Regions from separate parts of the Homo sapiens genome. Here regions 1, 2, 3, 4, 5 and 6 are each linked to region 7. Evidence: promoter capture Hi-C in human tissues and cell types (Jung and others, 2019). All regions are on one chromosome and are shown on one strand. The core of a region is centred on a gene start or on the middle of the fragment in contact, and the rest is flanking DNA. Distances in the headings are between cores, read along the strand shown. Region 1 has its middle 6.3 kb from the start of RCBTB1. Region 2 overlaps DLEU1 (deleted in lymphocytic leukemia 1). Region 3 overlaps DLEU1 (deleted in lymphocytic leukemia 1). Region 4 overlaps DLEU1 (deleted in lymphocytic leukemia 1). Region 5 overlaps DLEU1 (deleted in lymphocytic leukemia 1). Region 6 overlaps DLEU1 (deleted in lymphocytic leukemia 1). Region 7 holds the start of TRIM13 (tripartite motif containing 13).

Evidence for each region. The method cuts DNA at HindIII sites, captures the fragments that hold promoters and counts their contacts. A contact is called where the count stands out against the background at its distance.
Region 1: a fragment that was not itself captured here is called in contact with the fragment with the promoter of TRIM13 in region 7 in 1 of the 25 tissues and cell types used here (IMR-90 fibroblasts).
Region 2: a contact is called between a fragment that was not itself captured here and the fragment with the promoter of TRIM13 in region 7, in 1 of the 25 tissues and cell types used here (lymphoblastoid cells).
Region 3: a contact is called between a fragment that was not itself captured here and the fragment with the promoter of TRIM13 in region 7, in 1 of the 25 tissues and cell types used here (dorsolateral prefrontal cortex).
Region 4: a fragment that was not itself captured here is called in contact with the fragment with the promoter of TRIM13 in region 7 in 3 of the 25 tissues and cell types used here (dorsolateral prefrontal cortex, hippocampus and mesenchymal stem cells).
Region 5: a fragment that was not itself captured here is called in contact with the fragment with the promoter of TRIM13 in region 7 in 1 of the 25 tissues and cell types used here (adrenal gland).
Region 6: a fragment that was not itself captured here is called in contact with the fragment with the promoter of TRIM13 in region 7 in 2 of the 25 tissues and cell types used here (IMR-90 fibroblasts and mesenchymal stem cells).

The regions. Positions count from the first base shown.
Region 1 is chr13:49,590,507-49,593,206 of GRCh38, reverse strand. No RefSeq gene overlaps it. Among named protein-coding and RNA genes, the nearest start is that of RCBTB1, 6.3 kb to the right of the region's middle. The HindIII fragment of the contact is 3,491 bases long and covers 1-2,700 here.
Region 2 is chr13:50,502,331-50,505,030 of GRCh38, reverse strand. The region is part of intron 5 of DLEU1 (deleted in lymphocytic leukemia 1); the gene reads right to left. Among named protein-coding and RNA genes, the nearest start is that of DLEU1-AS1, 24 kb to the left of the region's middle. The HindIII fragment of the contact is 5,430 bases long and covers 1-2,700 here.
Region 3 is chr13:50,484,146-50,486,912 of GRCh38, reverse strand. The region is part of intron 4 of DLEU1 (deleted in lymphocytic leukemia 1); the gene reads right to left. Among named protein-coding and RNA genes, the nearest start is that of DLEU1-AS1, 42 kb to the left of the region's middle. The HindIII fragment of the contact is 3,390 bases long and covers 1-2,767 here.
Region 4 is chr13:50,392,572-50,395,323 of GRCh38, reverse strand. All of the region lies in intron 3 of DLEU1 (deleted in lymphocytic leukemia 1), which reads right to left. Among named protein-coding and RNA genes, the nearest start is that of DLEU1-AS1, 130 kb to the left of the region's middle. The HindIII fragment of the contact is 4,618 bases long and covers 1-2,752 here.
Region 5 is chr13:50,428,475-50,431,174 of GRCh38, reverse strand. All of the region lies in intron 3 of DLEU1 (deleted in lymphocytic leukemia 1), which reads right to left. Among named protein-coding and RNA genes, the nearest start is that of DLEU1-AS1, 98 kb to the left of the region's middle. The HindIII fragment of the contact is 5,811 bases long and covers 1-2,700 here.
Region 6 is chr13:50,409,049-50,411,748 of GRCh38, reverse strand. All of the region lies in intron 3 of DLEU1 (deleted in lymphocytic leukemia 1), which reads right to left. Among named protein-coding and RNA genes, the nearest start is that of DLEU1-AS1, 120 kb to the left of the region's middle. The HindIII fragment of the contact is 4,437 bases long and covers 1-2,700 here.
Region 7 is chr13:49,995,776-49,998,475 of GRCh38, reverse strand. TRIM13 (tripartite motif containing 13) reads right to left here and starts at 1,434. Exons shown (of 2, transcript NM_213590.3): 1 at 713-1,434. DLEU2 (deleted in lymphocytic leukemia 2) reads left to right here. Exons shown (of 14, transcript NR_152566.1): 11 at 1,057-1,402. It overlaps MIR3613 (microRNA 3613), which reads left to right and starts at 1,975; the gene lies at 1,975-2,061. RefSeq lists silencers at 1,698-1,827, 2,418-2,467 and an enhancer at 2,008-2,137. The HindIII fragment of the contact is 11,924 bases long and covers 1-2,700 here.

The sequences.
Region 1 (2,700 bases), core at 131-2,630, 410 kb after region 7:
AGAGGCGCCCCTCACCTCCCGGACGGGGCGGCTGGCCGGGCGGGGGGCTGACCCCCCCACCTCCCTCCCGGACGGCACGGCTGGCCGGGCGGGGGGGCTGACCCCCCACCTCCCTCCCAGATGGGGCGGCTGGCCGGGCGGGGGGCTGACCCCCCCCACCTCCCTTCCGGACGGGGTGGCTGCCGGGCGGAGACGCTCCTCACTTCCCAGATGGGGTGGCTGCCGGGCGGAGAGGCTCCTCACTTCTCAGACGGGGCAGCTGCCGGGCGGAGGGGCTCCTCACTTCTCAGACGGGGTGGTTGCCAGGCAGAGGGTCTCCTCACTTCTCAGACGGGGCGGCCGGGCAGAGACGCTCCTCACCTCCCAGACGGGGTCTCGGCCGGGCAGAGGCGCTCCTCACATCCCAGATGGGGCGGCGGGGCAGAGGCGCTCCCCACATCTCAGACGATGGGCGGCCGGGCAGAGACGCTCCTCACTTCCTAGATGTGATGGCGGCTGGGAAGAGGCGCTCCTCACTTCCTAGATGGGATGGCGGCCGGGCGGAGACGCTCCTCACTTTCCAGACTGGGCAGCCAGGCAGAGGGGCTCCTCACAGCCCAGACGATGGGCGGCCAGGCAGAGACACTCCTCACTTCCCAGACAGGGTGGCGGCCGGGCAGAGGCTGCAATCTCGGCACTTTGGGAGGCCAAGGCAGGCGGCTGGGAGGTGTAGGTTGTAGTGAGCCGAGATCACGCCACTGCACTCCAGCCTGGGCACCATTGAGCACTGAGTGAACGAGACTCCGTCTGCAATCCCGGCACCTCGGGAGGCCGAGGTTGGCGGATCACTCGCGGTTAGGGGCTGGAGACCGGCCCGGCCAACACAGCGAAACCCCGTCTCCACCAAAACCAGTCAGGCGTGGCGGCGCGTGCCTGCAATCGCAGGCATTCGGCAGACTGAGGCAGGAGAATCAGGCAGGGAGGTTGCAGTGAGCCGAGATGGCAGCAGTACAGTCCAGCTCCGGCTCCGCATGAGAGGGAGACCGTGGGGAGAGGGGAGAGGGGAGAGGGGAGAGGGGAGAGCGGAGAGGGCCTTTTAAGTTCTTAGAAGGCAGCAGTCAATACTCAACTCTTGAAATCACTATGATGGATTAGTAAATTGCTCCTACTCTGTCTCTTCATAGCCATCACTCTTCTTTTCTAGAATTCTTTTTTGGTATTTCCTGGCTCTTCTCACATATAAACATTAGAATAATTTTGTTAAGTTTTGAAAACAAGAAAAAATGGTAATTGCATTGAAATTAAAGATTAGGCCTGGCGCGACTAGTCATTTGTTGCAGGCTGCCCCTATAAGGTGACTGGACCTTGAATAAGGCAGCTTTCTTTAGCAAGACAGTCACTGAAGAAGGCTGTCAGCATACAAGCTTCCCAAAAGCTGGGGGAATAAATCCTTCAGTCTTAAAGGAGAGATTGGGTAATGCAGCATAACATTTATAAAAGAGAACATTACTGTTTTAATCACCAAGGTACACCCAGACCTTATTACAGTGCCTAGCACATGGCAGGCATTCAAAAGATCTTTATGAATAAATAAATTACTGAAATATCCTGCTTTCTTAGTTTGAAATATAAAGGGCACATCTCATCCCACCTTACAACATTTTGCTATGAAAATTTCAAAGTTTAGCCGGACGTGGTGGCTCTCATCTGTAATCCCAGCACTTTGGGAGGTCAAAGTGGGTGGATCACACATAGTGAAACCCCATCTCTACTAAAAATACAAAAATTAGCCAGACGTGATGGTGCACACCTGTAATCCTAGCTACTGGGGAGGCTGAGGCATGAGAGTCACTTGAACCTCAGAGGTGGAGGTTGCAGTGAGCTGAGATCACGCCACTGCAGTCCAACCTGGGCAAGAGAGCGAGACGCCATATCAAAAAAAAAAAAAAAAAAAGAAAGAAAATTTCAAAGTTTAAATAAAAGTATAAATAATAGCTCCTCGATTTAACAATTGCAAACATTTTGCCATATTTTCTCTTTCTTTATGGACATGGATATATACAGTATTAATTTTTTGTGTGAACCATTTGCAGACCTCATTACACTCTGTCCTTAATTATTCTGGTACACATCTCATAAAAATAGGGACATTCTTTCTTTGTTTTTTTGTTTTGTTTGTTTGTTTTTTTGTTTTTTGAGACAAGGTCTTGCTCTGTTGCCCAGACTGGAGTGCAGTGGTGCAATCATAGCTCACTGCAGCCTTGACCTCCTGGACTCAAGCAATCCTCCCACCACAGCTTCCCGAGTAGCTGGGATCACAGCTGTGTGCCATCTTGCCTGGCTAATTTTTGGTAGAGATAGGGTTTCGTCATGTTGCCCAGGCTAGTCTCAGACTCCTGGGCTCAAGCAATCCTCCCGCCTTAGCCTCCCAAAGGGCTGGGATTACAGGCATAAGCCACCATGCCCAGCCAGGATGTTCTTAATATTACTATTACCACATCTAAAAAACCCAGTAATCTCCTAATACTATCTAATATCCAGTCCATATTAAATTTCTGATTCTTTACAAAATATTATTTATAGCTTAAAAAAATTGGAACCAAGGGGCTGGGCGTGGTGACTCACACCTGTAATCCCAACCTTTTAGGAGGCCAAGGCCAGAGGATCTTTTGAGCCCAGGAGTTTGAGGCTGCAGTGGGCTGTGATGGTGCCACTGCACTC
Region 2 (2,700 bases), core at 144-2,643, 510 kb before region 7:
ATAAAGGGTATTCAATTAGGAAAAGAGGAAGTCAAATTGTCCTTGTTTGCAGATGACGTGATTGTATATCTAGAAAACCCCATCATCTCAGCCCAAAATCTCCTTAAGCTGATAAGCAACTTCAGCAAAGTCTCAGGATACAAAATCAATGTGCAAAAATCACAAGCATTCTTATACACCAATAACAGACAAACAGAGAGCCAAATCATGAGTGAACTCCCATTCACAATTGCTTCAAAGAGAATAAAATACCTAGGAATCCAACTTACAAGGGATGTGAAGGACCTCTTCAAGGAGAACAACAAATCACTGCTCAATGAAATAAAACAGGATACAAACAAATGGAAGAACCTTCCATGCTCATGGGTAGGAAGAATCAATATCGTGAAAATGGCCATACTGCCCAAGGTAATTTATAGATTCAATGCCATCCCCATCAAGCTACCAATGACTTTCTTCACAGAATTGGAAAAAGCTACTTTAAAGTTCATATGGAACCAAAAAAGAGCCCGCATTGCCAAGTCAATCCTAAGCCAAAAGAACAAAGCTGGAGGCATCACGATACCTGACTTCAAACTATACTACAAGGATACAGTAACCAAAACAGCATGGTACTGGTACCAAAACAGAGATCTAGACCAATGGAACAGAACAGAGCCCTCGGAAATAATGCCACATATCTACAACCATCTGATCTTTGACAAACCTGACAAAAGCAAGAAATGGGGATATGATTCCCTATTTAATAAATGGTGCTGGGAAAACTGGCCAGCCATATGTAGAAAGCTGAAACTGGATCCCTTCCTTACACTTTATACAAAAATTAATTCAAGATGGATTAAAGACTTAAATGTTAGACATAAAACCATAAAAGCCCTAGAAGAAAACCTAGGCAATACCATTCAGGACATAGACATGGGCAAGGACTTCATGTCTAAAACACCAAAAGCAATGGCAGCAAAAGCCAAAATTGACAAATGGGATCTAATTAAACTAAAGAGCTTCTGCACAGCAAAAGAAACTACCATCAGAGTGAATAGGCAACCTACAGAATGGGAGAAAATTTTTGCAATCTACTCATCTGACAAAGGGCTAATATCCAGAATCTACAATGAACTCAAACAAATTTACAAGAAAAAAACAAACAACCCCATCAAAAAGTGGACGAAGGATATGAACAGACACTTCTCAAAAGAAGACTTTTACGCAGCCCAAAGACACATGAAAAAATGTTCATCATCACTGGCCATCAGAGAAATGCAAATCAAAACCACAGTGAGATACCATCTCACACCAGTTAGAATGGCGATCATTAAAAAGTCAGGAAACAACAGGTGCTGGAGAGGATGTGGAAAATAGGAACACTTTTACACTGTTGGTGGGACTGTAAACTAGTTCAACCATTGTGGAAGTCAGTGTGGCGATTCCTCAGGGATCTAGGACTAGAAATACCATTTGACCCAGCAATCCCATTACTGGGTATATACCCAAAGGATTATAAATCATGCTGCTATAAAGACACATGCACATGTATGTTTATTGTGGTGCTATTCACAATAGCAAAGACTTGGAACCATGCCAAATGTCCAACAATGTTAGACTGGATTAAGAAAATGTGGCATATATACACCATGGAATACTATGCAGCCATAAAAAAGGATGAGTTCATGTCCTGTGTAGGGACATGGATGAAGCTGGAAACCATCATTCTCAGCAAACTATGGCAAGGACAAAAAACCAAACACCACATGTTCTCACTCATAGGTGGGAATTGAACAATGAGAACACATGGACACAGGAAGGGGAACATCACACACCAGGGCCTGTTGTGGAGTGGGGGGAGGGGGGGAGGGATAGCATGAGACGATATACCTAATGTTAAATGACGAGTTAATGGGTGCAGCACACCAACATGGCACATGTATACATATGTAACTAACCTGCACGTTGTGCACATGTACCCTAACACTTAAAGTATTAAAAAAAGTTTTATAGTAAATATATTATTTTTCTGATAATAGTAAGATAGTTAAACTATTATATATGTAATACTATTATATGTAGTAATATATATATACTTGGTAGAATATTATGGAGTCATTAAAAAGAATGTTATACAAGAATTTATGATAATATTAAGAAATACTTACGTTAAAAGAGTAGATGTTAAATTATATATATGGTAGGATGCCAAATTATAAATTGAATAATAACTACACCTGGAAAAAGACAGGATGAAAAGACACTAAAATATTAGTATCTTTGAATAGTGATAGTACGGACATTATTGATATTACCTATAATAAACATGTACTATTTATAATGCAAAGAATGACCTTATTTTCACACTAAAAGAAATGAGAAAAAATATACTTCTCATTCCATTGACCCAATTCTCACCTAAGCCTCAATTGTTCACTAGTTGGTTTGTATTTAATAAACACAATTTTTTTGTTCATTTAAGGGCATTATTTTAGAACTTAAATTATTGGCAAACATGTCTCCCAAAAACTGTAGCAAGGAGACCAGGTTAACAAATAAGCAATCCTAATTTCTTACTGGCTTAACAGAATAAGAAAGAATTTTAAAGAATGTATCCCCCCATCCCTTCCCGTTCCCCAAGGAGCTAAATAGGGCTTTAGATCCCTGGGGTTTCCCTCCCTTGGAAAGGGACAATCAAAATGTGACTTCTTCTTCTTA
Region 3 (2,767 bases), core at 34-2,533, 490 kb before region 7:
TTCTAGCTTTCAGACCCTCAAGTGCCTGAGTCCAGAACACCAGGAACTTGAAGCAGGGAGTGGTCCTAAACCTTCCCCCACCCACCACCCTCCTGGGTCGGGCTGTTTTTCACACTGTGACGTTACCCATTTTGTTATCATCAAGACCTTGTGATGGATGCTTGAGGCTCACAGAGTGCATGCCTGGAATCTGCAGGGCTCCTCCTTATCTGTCAATGCCTTAAACTTCCTGATGCTGACTGACATTCCTCATTTTGCCGAGTTTCAGTCCAGGTGCAGAGTATTTTTGGAAATGCAATCATATCAGGAGATGGTACTTTTTACATCAGTTGCCCCCTCAACATTAAGTACGTACCTGGCACCTTGCCACCTAATATGCAAGTAGCCACATTATTATGGAAACCACATGTTCATTAGCAAGGTTGGCACCAACACAACCTCCACTGTCCGAAGTTAATGTTATGTTCCATTATAGTCCAGACAACAGGACAGTGTAGGATACAGTTTGGGCATGAGAACAAGCAGTCCTGTTTGATGAAATCTGAGTCTTCAACTGTTAGAAATATGATCCAGTTTCTATCTTGACATACGTCTGCACTGATGTTTCAGAAAAGGACATGTTTTGAAAGAAAATACCATTCTTTTAGTGTTATCTTTGCAAAATTGTATTTAATTCTTTCTACCACTTTCACGGACAACCAGAATCCGCTGGCTTCTTGCTGGGCTAATCACTTCATCCCTAGAGATTCATGCAAGAGTATTTCACTTAATATAAAGGAGTGACTCAGAATCATTGCTTTCAATTGAGAAAGGCTGAGAGAGTCCTGAGAACAGTATTCTCTTCTTTTAGAAGCAGGGAGGAGGGGTGCTAAGATAAGGAGGGAGAGAAGGAAAAAAGAGAGGGGGAAAGAATATAAGAAGAAAAAGACTTGTGTATTCAAAATGAAAGCATCAATTCCATGCATTTTGTTTCATAAAATTTAATTCAGATTGCACAAGTTCTCAGGCTTTCAGACATTATGATGTACAATGTGTAATTAATCTCTTGCTCCATCCTGATAGAAAGGCATACTAGATTTTTTAAAACTTATTATTATCATTAATTATTATCCTGTGTGTGTCACATGTAGGTCAGAGAGCTTGGATTTTTCTGTATCCCTTACTGGTGAAGCAAACCCACTTTTTGCATGTATGCTTAACAAAGCTGCCAAAAGTATTTGTTTAAACCCATGAGTTGCATTGCTTTACAAAAGTTTCTTATAGCTCACATATGTTCAAGTCCTTTCTTATTTATATGTGGCAATCATAAGCAGAATTTCATGAATTAAGAAACCTAAGCGTGGGACATGGATTAAAGGATTTTTATGTTTGCTGCTGGAAATAGTGGCCTTGAAGGCCAGGTATTTTCCCCAGATGATCCATGAGGTATTATAATCTTCCCATGAATAGCTAGGTCTATTATAATAAAATATTTTGCAGAAATCTGAGGATGACCTAACCTCACCAGTTTCTCCCAAAATAAGCCATATTCCAACCAAAAATAAAGAGTATTTTTAGATCAGTGTAAAAGCAGCAGTCAATAAACTACGTTGGTGAGCAGACCATCCTACCAAGTTTCCTGACAAGTAATTTCTTGGACTTCTGAGGAGATGGATCTGAGCCAGTACTAGATTACCCAAAAGCAACACAAGTGTTTAGGCCCCCAACAAGGTGAGAACACTAAATGATGAGAAAATAACCTTTGTGAGAATTTGATACTTAATTTTTTATAAAAACTATTAAAATAATAACACGGAAAAAGAATAAAAGTTAAAGTATTTTTTACTATCTTGTACTTATCTGTACTTTCTATGCTTATTTCTAGTTTGTTATTATTTTTCTTTTAACTGGTGTTGGAGGGGAATATTCCTTATGGTGCTAGAGGCATTGCATAGTCATCTGGCAGCTCTGATCTGCTTACAGTCGTGAGACCTGAGAGGAAAATCCCTGACCTCTTGTTTCATAAACGTCCTCTTTCTTCCTGGACTCAGACGCCACCTCCATTTTGGGTCTTCCCAAGCCCTAACAGAGCAAGCAAAAATTTCAGTGATTCACTCCTGTTTTCTACTTCACATAAATTCAGTCCAAAACCATCTGAAGATAGAAACACAGCCTCCTTTTCTTGGTATAAGCAAAGGGTTAATGCTGACAAACGACGCGGTGAATGTGTCCCGTTCTGTGTGTGCTTGCACGTCTAGTCAGAACTGCTCTGCTCATGCTTGTTTCTCATATGACCTTTACAAGCAGCGAAGAAAGGCGTCCATTGTTTCCTTGCATCTCGTGGATTTAAAAACATAGTCCCCACAACAACTAAAAAGGCAAGTCAGGGAAGGAATGCCGAAAGCAAAAACAAAGTATTTCACCCCAGGAAAAGCCATATATAGTCAGTTATGAGATAGTGTTTGACTTAGAAATTGCACCCATATCTGTGAGATAGGTGGTGGACTGGATAGTTGTAAAATAAAGTTTGTATGCTCTCTTAGTCCCCACTCAGCTCCCTACAGTCTTCCTACAGTACTATGTAATTTTTATTTTTAAGCAAAAGATGGGGCTAAAAGTCAATCATGTGAGCCCACCTGACTGAATTGGTACCAAGGCGTAATTCTTTTCTATGATAAATAGACAGACAGATAGTAGAGAGAGATAATAGGTAAATAATAGATGACAGAGAAAATTAGATTAATATATATTATCTATAGTACTTATAGAGCTATATACATATGTAATA
Region 4 (2,752 bases), core at 73-2,572, 400 kb before region 7:
ATTGAATTTCACTCATGTTGCATGTGCTAATAGTTCATTTATTTTATTGATAAGTATCCCATTGTATAGCTATACCACCGTTTATTTATCCATTCATCTATTGATGGACACTGATGGACATATGGGTTGTTTCTAGTTTTTGACTATTAAAATAAAGCTTCTATGAATAATCATGTTCAGTCCTTGTATAGACCCATACTTTGATTGCTCTTCAGTAAATACCTGTAAAATGACTGGGTTATTTGCTATCTATATGTTTAGCTTTTAAAGAAACTAGCTATTTTCTAGAATGATTGTACCATTTTACACATCCATCAGCAGTACATGAGAGTTCCAGTTGCTTCCTGCCCTCGACTTGCTATGGTCAGTCTTTATTCTAACAGATGTGTAGTGCTATCTCAGTGTGGTTTTAATCTGCCCCTAAGGAATAATGATATTGAACATTTTTAATGCATTTATCTGCCATCCATATGTCCTTTATGGTAAAGTACCTGTTCTAATATTTTGCCCTATTTTACTGGTTTATTTGTTCTCTTATTACTATGTTAAGGGAATTCTTTATATATTCTGTATGCAAGTCTTATTAGATATGTGATTTGAAAATATTTTCTTCCAATAGGTGGATATTCTTCATTTTCTTAAGTTTCTTGCAAAGAATAGAGGTTCTTAATTTGAATGAAGTCCAATTTATATTTTTTTCTTTTATGGTTTATTCTTTTGGTATGGGATTTATAAACATTTTTCCTAATACCTTGTCACAAAGATGTTCTCTTCTGTTTCCTTCTAGAAATTTTATATTTTTAGATCTTGAAAGTAGGCCTATGATCTCTTTTGGATTTGGATATGTTGCAAGGTTTGAATCAAAGGAGTTTTCTGCTTTTTTTTTTTCCTGTTTTTATGAATGGATGATCAATTGTTAAGAAGACTATGCTTTCTCTGTTGAAGTGCCTTTAAACCTTTATAAAAGTCAATTCACCAGATACATGAGATGTATGTTTCCATTATATCTACTTATATATTGTCCATCTTGATACCATTACCACACTACCTTGATTACAATAGTTTTATGTCTCAAAATTAGGTAGTATGAGTCCCCCAACTTTGTTGTTTTTCAAAATTATCTTGGCTATTCTAAGTCCTTTGCATTTCTATATAAATTTTAGAATCATCTTATCAACTTCTACCAAAAAAAAAAAAAAAGATAAAAGAAAAAAAAAGCCTTCTGGGATTTTCACTGGGAATGCTTTGAATTTATACATCAATTTGGAGACAACTAACAATATTGATTCTTTCATTCCAAGAATTCAGAATATTGTTCCATTTATTTATATCTTCTTTAGTTTTTCTTAGCAATGTTAAGTAGTTTACAACAGGGATCCCCAGCCCCTGGGCCACGTGGACCAATACTGGTTCATGGCCTGTTAGGAACCAAGCCACACAGCAGGAGGTGAGCAGTGGGCGAGCAAGGGAAGCTTCATCATATTCACAGCTGCTCCCCACTGCTCACATTACTGCCTGAGCTCCGCCTCCTGTCAGATCAGCGGCGGCACTGGAGCCTCACAAGAACGCAAACCCTATTGTGAACTGCACATGGGAGGAATCTAGGTTGCATGCTCCTTATTAGAATCTAATGCCTGCCTGATGATCTGTCACTGTCTCCCATCAACCCCATATGGAGTCCCATATAAGCTTGTAGGAAAACAAGCTCAGGGCTTCCACTGATTCTACATTATGGTGAGTTGTAAAATTATTTCATTACATATTACAATGTAATAATAATAGAAATAAATTGCAAAATTAATATAATGTGCTTGAATCATCCTGAAACCATCCCCCGACCGCCCCTGGTCTGTGGAAGAATTGTCTTCCACAAAACCTGTCCTCGGTGCCAAAAACATTGGGGACTGCTGGTTTACAATATACAGATATTACGATTATTTTTAGCAACTTCTTTTATATCCATATTATTTCTCTATACAGATTATATCTAAAAGTAGCAGGTCACTAATACTTCTCCTGTGTCTTCACTGGGCCTCCATTTCCTCATCTGTGAAGACAGAATAAAAACAACTGCTGCCAAAGTTGGGCACAAAATTGCATGTGTAAGGCACCTAACATTTGTGCCTATTGCACAATGCTGCTGGTCTGATTACAGAGTTAATAAGTTTTGTTTAATAAAAGGATGAAGAGGGAAATAGAGGAGTCATAAGGGTGAGGCAACAAAGTGTGGGTTCAAAGCAAGAGGCATCCAATCTGATAAGATTGAGCCTAAAAACAAAACAAAACAAAACAAAACAAAACCCAATGACCACAACAGCACTAATTGCTCAGAAATTAACCCGAAGACTCAGATAGCCAAATGAGGTGGTGTGGTGGAAGCAGTTGTAATGCTCCTGGCTAGACAGAGAATACATAGTAAGAATCTGTTGTGTGCACATACATTAAGAAATTAACAGGTGATGTTCCAGTTATAGGAATGGGAGCAACCAACAGAAATTTAGCCAGGAAAGGAGCTTGAGTATGTAGCACTGAATACTCTCTGCATATCTGGGTAGACTGTAACCTTGTCCATGTCCAGATAAGAACTAAATAAAGCTGACTCGTGATGCTTCTTAACCTCTATTCATCTGCTGATATAAGGGAGTCCATAACCCACCAGGAAAGGGGGCTCCACCCACTCAGAGTGGGCACTGATAACAAAAAACCCAGCAAAATGCTAAATGCATAGCAATCTACAAGAAACTCTTAGCTG
Region 5 (2,700 bases), core at 145-2,644, 430 kb before region 7:
TGGGAAGGGACGTGTTTGGACCTTCGGGCAAAGCAATCTGGCATCATTTCTTAGGGGTAAAACACGTATCCACACTTAGGCCACTTACCAATAACATTCCTGTGTGTTCCATAAAATCAATTTCTTTGTAAAGACATATGTTAAAAGATATTAACTGTAGCATTGTTAGTAGTGGTAGAAGAAAAAGAAAAACCAGAAACACAAGCAATGCCTATCAATAGGAGCATGCCTTTAAAAAATTTCAGTCACTGAAAATGATAAATTGTAACTCCATCAAACAACTTGGAGGGTTTTCAAATGAGGTACTGTTGAGTGAGAAAAGCAGGATGCAGAAAAATATGTAATATATGATCCCACTTTTTAAAAAAATCTATAAAACAAACTGTATATATATATATATATATATACACACATACATGTGTATATAATATAGTGTATGTGTATGCATGTATGTCATACATTATATAAGGATTATATAAGGACATATAAAAATATGGAAAGATGCATTCAATGTTGTTTTAAAGGCTGTTTAAGGGACAGAAAGGATGATGTAAAAGGAAAGAAGAAGAGGATAAAGCAAACAAAAAAAATTGCAATAAAAAGAGAACTTCATGATTTTAAAGGCATGCATTGATGAAATTATGTACATGTGAGTACATATAATTAAAATATACTTTTTTTTTTTTTTGAGACGGAGTCTTGCTCTGTCGCCCAGGCTGGAGTGCAGTGGCACGATCTTGGCTCACTGCAAGCACTGCCTCCTGAGTTCACACCATTCTCCTGCCTCAGCCTCCCGAGTAGCTGGGACTACAGGCACCCGCCACCACACCTGGCTAATTTTTTGTATTTTTAGTAGAGACAGGGTTTCACCGTGTTAGCCAGGATGGTCTTGATCTCCTGACCTCGTGATCTGCCCACTTCGGCCTCCCAAAGTGCTGGGATGACAGGCATGAGCCACCACATCTGGCCAAAATATACTTTTTAATATGTTCAAATATATAGGATTTAAAATATTTTAGAGAAAAATATGAATACATCAAGAGACAAAATTCTGCTTCTCTAGTGATCAAAGAATTCCAAGGTGAAAGAATGAGTTACCGTTTTTCCTTAGAAGATTAGAAAAGATTTTAAAAGTTGATAATACCCATTGATTGTGTGGATGTAGAGAATTAAACACTCTGGATGCTTTGTGCTTTGTGAATGTAAATTGTTAGAACCTTTCTGGAGCATACTCTGGCAATATTTATGAAAAGCCCTTAAATAATCAGTGTACAATCCTACAGAAAGGTATACAGAGAATAAGGATAGTCAGTAATATCAAGAAATTGTAAGCAAGTTACCTAAATGAAATAACATATGTAAAGTGCATAGCGCAAACTTGAAATATTATTAACATTCAACAAATGTTCTAAAACTGAGGGATTTGGTTAATCAATTGGTAGTTGATATGGTTTGGCTGTGTCCCCACCCAAATTTCATCTTGAATTGTAGCTCCCATAATTCCCACGTGTCATGGGAGGGACCAAGTGGGAGGTAATTGAATCATGAGGGCAGGTCTTTCCTGTGCTGTTCTCCTGATAGTGAATAAGTCACAGGAGATCTGATGGTTTTATGAAGAGGAGTTCCCCTGCACAAGCTTTCTCTTGCCTGCTGCCATCCACATAAGCTCTCTCTTGCCTGCTTGCTCCTCCTTGCCTTCCACCATGATTGTGAGGCTTCCCCAGTTGTGTGGAACCGTGAGTCAATTAAACCTCTTTCCTTTATAAATTACCCAGTCTCGAGTATGTCTTTATTAGCAACAAGAGAACAGACTAATACAGTAGTCAAGCTCAGGAGGAGAAAAAAATAATGAAATATTTAATAAATAGTACTAGCATCCTGGAATGGAAAACAATGCAAGTTTTTAAAATGATAATGCAGATCTATGTTCTGATTTAGAAGAACATGAACAAAACCCAAAATATTATTAAAGGGAAAAAGGAAATTGTAAAGCAGTATCTTTGAAAATGCATTTGCAATTACATTTTGTAGAAAAAAAACTGAAAAGAAGTGCCTGAAAATGTTAACAGTGGTTATCGCTGAATAGTGGAATTTTTGAGGTTCATTTCTTTTTTTCCATCTATGTTTTCTCATTTTTTTCACAATGAGAGTGCATTGTTGCATAATTTTTAAATTTTCCAAAGCATCACAGTGTGGATCAATGTTTAGAAAAGGGAGTCAGAATCCTAGCTCCTTAATGTAATAGCAATGTGACATTAGGCATTTTACTTTTAAAAATCTGTTTACACATCTGTTGATTAATGATACAGAACCAAAATAAGCCATCTCCTGGTCATTCCAAATCAACAGGCATTTGCCATACTTGAATCCACAGGCAGTGGGGAGGAGGGTGCATGCTGACATTAGCTCACACTAGCAAAACTTCATGTTGCTCAAACAGATATTCAAAAGACAGGCTCAGATGCAGGAACTTGTGTGGTTATTTTCAAATGTCTCATGACTTGAAAGAACAGGTGTTGGAGGAAACTGTGTCTACATACTTGCTAGGAAAGCATTCTCAGGTTTCTTTTCTAATCATGGAAAAGATGATACATTGATGGGACTGTTACCCCTACTTTCTGAAAACAGCCAAGCAACCAGATGCATGAAACCCATATTCAAGAGCAATGAAGTCATGGTTAAAAGTCCCAAGCATCCTAG
Region 6 (2,700 bases), core at 180-2,679, 410 kb before region 7:
CCCCAGTGAAACCATTTACTGGCTCACTGTTGGCTGCATAATCTGCCTTTAAGCACTTTCTCCTCTGCAAAAACCCCAGAACTCCTTTAAGAGCCATGTCTCAGCACACAAAACTTTCAAGTGACTCACCCTTCCCTCCCGCTTCCCTGGCCCAGCCCCACAGCCCCTCACACCAGCCATGCAGTCTTTGACCTTTCCTGATAACCCACTCACAGTTCATTCTGCCTGCAGGGCAGACAAGAAACGCACAGGGGCAAGATTACTGAAGCTTTGACAACATTCATAAAAAGAATGGACATAGTCAACCCCCTTGCACACTTCTGAACCTTTGCCTGTGTGGCTGCCTCCACCAGGAATGCCCTGGCTGACTTTGCCTGGCGAATGACTCATTGTGATTCGCAGCTCAGTTCAACTAGGGCTTTTTGGTGACAGCTTTCCCTGACACCCCTTCCCTTGCTGAATGAGGTGGTCCATCCTCTGGCATGGGGCAGAGCATCCCATACATCCTGCTCCCACTCCAACCTATTGCACTGGTATCCAATAGAAGGCAACATGTGTCACTGTGTCTCCCGCACCAGCCTGCAAGCCCCTTTAGGCAGGGCCTTGGTCATGTTCTTGTATCCCCAGCCCCTGGGATACTGACTTTTATATGGAAGGGACTCAGCAAATGTTTACTGAATAAAAGAATAATGGCAGCAATCCAGAAAATTCCTGACTGTGCCCAGACTGAAGGGCTCCAGTTGCTTCTCCATGAACAAAAAAGAGAACCTCAGGAAATGGCCAGTTGAAAGTTTTCAGATCTTTCAACCAACAAGAGCTGATGGTAAGGATGTCCAATGGACTGTACGAACATGAAGGAGGAAAATGCATGCTTTCTCAAGCTGGGCCTGAAGTCTTGCTATTAGAATTAGAGAAATACGAAAGTGATAAAGGAGACCACCCAAGAGAAGGGAATTTGGGTTACTGCAGTGAATAGGAGACTGAAGGGTGAGTACTCTCCACTCTGAAAGACGGCAGGTGAACGAAAGGCCAGGATCTAGGTGAGAAACCAGGGAAGGGGAAAGTGGGACAAGGATTTATTTGTCAAATTACAGCACCCTAGAATGGCAAAGGGTCTCTTGAAGATAAAAAGAGGTACATTCAGGAAAAATTTTAAGACTCTCCCCATGTGAGCAGATTAGTTTAAAAGACAAGCACAGAAGGGATTGAGGCCCACAGAAAGAAGGAACCCCATGTGGTGCTCATTTGAGTTGAACAAAGGGACCTGCACTGATGAATATATATGGGACTGGTCCCGTACCTAAGTTCCCATCCAGAAGAGAAGTCAGAGGAAACCAGAGAACTTCAGAAGAGCTTGGTGAGCGCCAACGGGCTCACACACACAGGGCTGTGGGAGCCTACAGCCCACAGTCCGCAGCTCTGAGAAACACATTGTGTTCCGCCTGTGGGGCAGTGTCCTCACAGCAATCCAGGTGTGTTTGAAGGAGAACGCCTAGCAGCAGCTGAAATAACCAAAAACAAGGTGGTAAATGGCTGTCCTGGGCCAATACAGGGACAAATTGGCAAAGTAGAATGTTCCTCGCAGAGCTCTCCAAATGTTTGAGAATTCTACCACCTCTCCTGAGGTGCCCTGGAAAAGGCGAAGTGGAAAGGTAGAGCCTGTTAAAATTTTATATGGTTTCTGAGGCATCTTAATTTTTAATAAAAAGTTCTTAATAATGTTCTGGATAAAAGACTGTGGTACTTAAAAGATTCTTTTTATAATGCCAAACTCTTTGTGCAATGTATGTATATATTTTTTAAAAGACCATAGTCTGGCAAATACTGACAGCCTGCAACACATACCACATTCTCCTTCCGCTTACTCCACCACCTCATACTGTGGCCAAGGGCAAATCCATTCAATTCTCTGGCCTGACTTAGCTTCACTTCAAGGTGAGGAGTTTAAAGTGAAATGTAACACAGTGGTAGTTTCCAACAGCCTTTGCCACTGAAATGTGTTCATCCAGCTGACGTTGTTTAACCCTGGCTTTTGGTACATTCTGGAAGGCCCAAGCATGTGAAGAGACATGCATCTGAGGCACATTTCCAGGGATGAAGGCTATCTGGGGGTCGGCAGTCCCAAATGAATAAGACAGCTACTAGTAAGTGGAGGATGGAATCCTTGACACTCTCCTCTCCTTCAGTTAGTGCTTCACAATTTTTAAAGTGCCTTCTTTGAGGCTTGGAGAAGTTGTTTGATTCACCAAGATTCTGCAGCTTTGTGCCAGGGCCAGAAACTTCACAGACTTTCTTCCTGTAGGGTGAGGCTCTGAAGACAACCTCACTGCAACACCTGTGGCCCAGGTTGGTTCAACAGTGAAGTGTACCGAGGAGCAGCTCAACTCTGCAGCTGTTCGGAAGTGGCCCTCAAGCTAGACTCAGAGGAGGAAGAGACCAGAGGAAACTGTCATAGCAAAGGCATCAATGCAGGATGGATTGAGCACTGTGTTCAAAGAACACAGTGCTTCCTTAGCCTTCCTCAGCACAGGAAAGAGGTGGTCCCAGAGCATGATTGGGAATGAGAAGTGGAAAGCCAGGTTGTAGAAGACCAAACATTTAATTTTTAATTTTTTTTTTTTTTTTTGTGGATACAGAGTCTTGCCATATTGCCCAGGCTAGTCTCAACCTCCTAACCTCAAGCGAACCTTGGAACCTGGC
Region 7 (2,700 bases), core at 185-2,684:
GCAAGAAAAGGTTCTAAACTTGAACTGTGATTTCAAGGCAAGGCAAAACAAATATTACATAAGGTATCAGGTACAAAGCAGTGTCATGAAAATGAGCATATCTGAACAAAAGCTGTGACAGAATTAAGGCCAGATAACCTATCATAAATGTATAGAATGAACAGAACAGCCCGGTTTTAGGAAAGGACTTCCCAGGGAGGTTTAGTAAGCCAGCTGGGAGAAAGGAAAAAAAACGTATTTTTAGGGAGGGATAGGGACGCTCCCATTGTGCAAGAAGGAAGTATAGCCGGTTAACAGCTCCATCAAGTTCTACTAGAAGGAGTGCCTATGTAAATGAAATTCTGCTTTTAAAGTGCCTATTATATAAAGGTCTCTAGAAAACTCAAGCCCTGTTCTACAAGCCCTAGCAGCCTGACAATTCACTAAGCATAGGAGAAGGGAAAAAAAAGTAGGAAAAAAGTGTGGAAGCCCCTTTCTTCCTTTGTAATATGAATGTTTGGCTATATTTAAGATAAATACCACATAAATAATTGCTAAACGTGAATTCTGTTTTTCTAAGTTTTAACAAAATATGCAAAGAACAAAGACCACCAATGAAAGTGGATGGGAACATACGTATTCTACACACAGTTCCATTTTGGAAGGTTCTAGGGCCTATTGAAATTGGGTGTTTAAAAAAAAAAGATAACACAGGAAAATTATTGTAGTTTACCTCTGTCTCCTACAAGCTGATGTATTTGGCAGGGTTACTATTTCCCAGGGCAAAGCAGGTCTTTTTTTTCACGTTTTGACTAACGAACTAGAGGCTACTGCAAAGAAAGAAGAAAAAGAACAGTATTAACGCATTTATTTGCACAGCACCCCAATCTTGACCCTCAATTTTTTCAATCGCCCCCACAAATAAAGCCCGGCTGTTTAGACCTGGTGAACCGCCAGGAGCCTGGAGCTCTTTGTATTAAGCAGCTTCTCGGTTAGGGCGCCCTCCCCCGGCGCCATGCAACCAAACGCTGGCGGCGCGCTGTAACCTAAGGCCCACACCCGTCTTTTCTTTTCTAGGGGATGTGGAGACGCTGGTAGCGGGGCCAGGAAGGCTCCGGACGGAGCAGGTTTTCTGGACCACAGACACACTGCCCCGGCGCCCTCCGCAGGCCGCTCCTCCCCAGGCCCATGACAGTGCCCCGCTGGTTTCTGCCGCGCTGCCGGACTGGAGCTCAGACGGCCTTCGCCAGCCCCCCCAACCCACGCAGATCCCTGCTGACCTGGGCAACTCCCCACCCTCGCTGAAGGTTCGAGGACCACCCCGCTTTCCCGAGAGGAGCCGGGCGGCGGGTACTTATCTCCGACCTCCGGCTAGTGGGAAAGGCCGCGCGACCGCCCGTCCTCCAACTACAGGGACCGCACGGTACGCGCCAAGCACAGCCCCAAAATGGACTCGCGGCTCCGGCTAGCTCCGCCCCCTTCCCTCTCCCGCTTCCCCTTCCCCTCCCGTCCCTTCCCCCTCCCCTCCCGTCCCTTCCCCCTCCCCTCCCGTCCCTTCCCCCCTCCCCCTCCCTTTCCCCTCCCCCTCCCCCTCCCTTTCCCCTCCCCCTCCCCCTCCCTTCCCCGTCGCCCGCCTCCGCCTGCACCTCCGGCCCCGCCTCCCCGTCCCGCTTCGCCTGTGTCCCGCCTCCCCGGCCGCGCCTCGCCTTGGCGGAGGGAGCCGGGTGGTGAGACCGCGTTCCTTCCGGCGTCTCCAACCGCCGCCTGCTCCCGCCGTCCACCCGCGCGGGCCGCCTGGGACGGGGAGGGCCGGGCTGCGGGCTTTTCTCCCTTCCAGAGTCCTGCGCCCGCCCAAAGCCCCCCCGCAGAGGCTGGGCAGCGGCTCCGGGAAGTGGACGCCGTTTGCCCAGACGGTGGGCTCGACTGAAGCGGCGCGGTCCCGGGTGGGGCCGCCCGGGAAGAAAGTCTCCCAGTTAAGCTGCCGTGCAATTAAGATGGTTGGGTTTGGATTGTTGTACTTTTTTTTTTGTTCGTTGCATTTTTAGGAACAAAAAAAAAAGCCCAACCCTTCACACCACTTCATCCGCATCTCAAGACCAGAAGCCGACCCCAGCGGCTTGGGGAAATGGAGCCCCGCACCCCACAAGGGGGAGGGTGGGACGGGCACCTCCGCACTGCGCGGCCTGCGGAGTCACCGATTCGCGTTGGGAGCGCGCCAGGAGCGCCAGGGCTCTAGCCGGGGGCTCCGGGCAAGGCGCAACCAGAAAAGGGTTCAGTATCCCCCATCACCCCCACCCCCAACCGTACCCTCTTTCTTTGCGGGCTTTAGGCAGGACACCAGAGACCCAATTCTATTTAAAATTCTCTTTTAAGAAAAGGAACGCCTGTTTTTGCCTTTGGGGGAAAGGATGAACTTTCAAATTGGCTTTAAATTATCCACCACTAACAGTTACTCAGTCGATAACCTGACTATTCTGACGTCCACCTCCCGTTTGAGGACCTTGCCCAATAGCAAACGTACTAAGCACTTAACCAGTGAACGGTGTGAAGGATGCAAACATGGATGATGAAGGAATGGCTCCTCCAGAATTTACGATCTTGGGAGAAGTGAGGCGAGTATAGAATCTCAGAACACGCTGTAGGATTGAGTTCGATCCCAGTTGAGGAAGTTTGGGTTTGGGGAGGAAATAGGTTATTTTGGAGAAACGGTATTCAAAACCT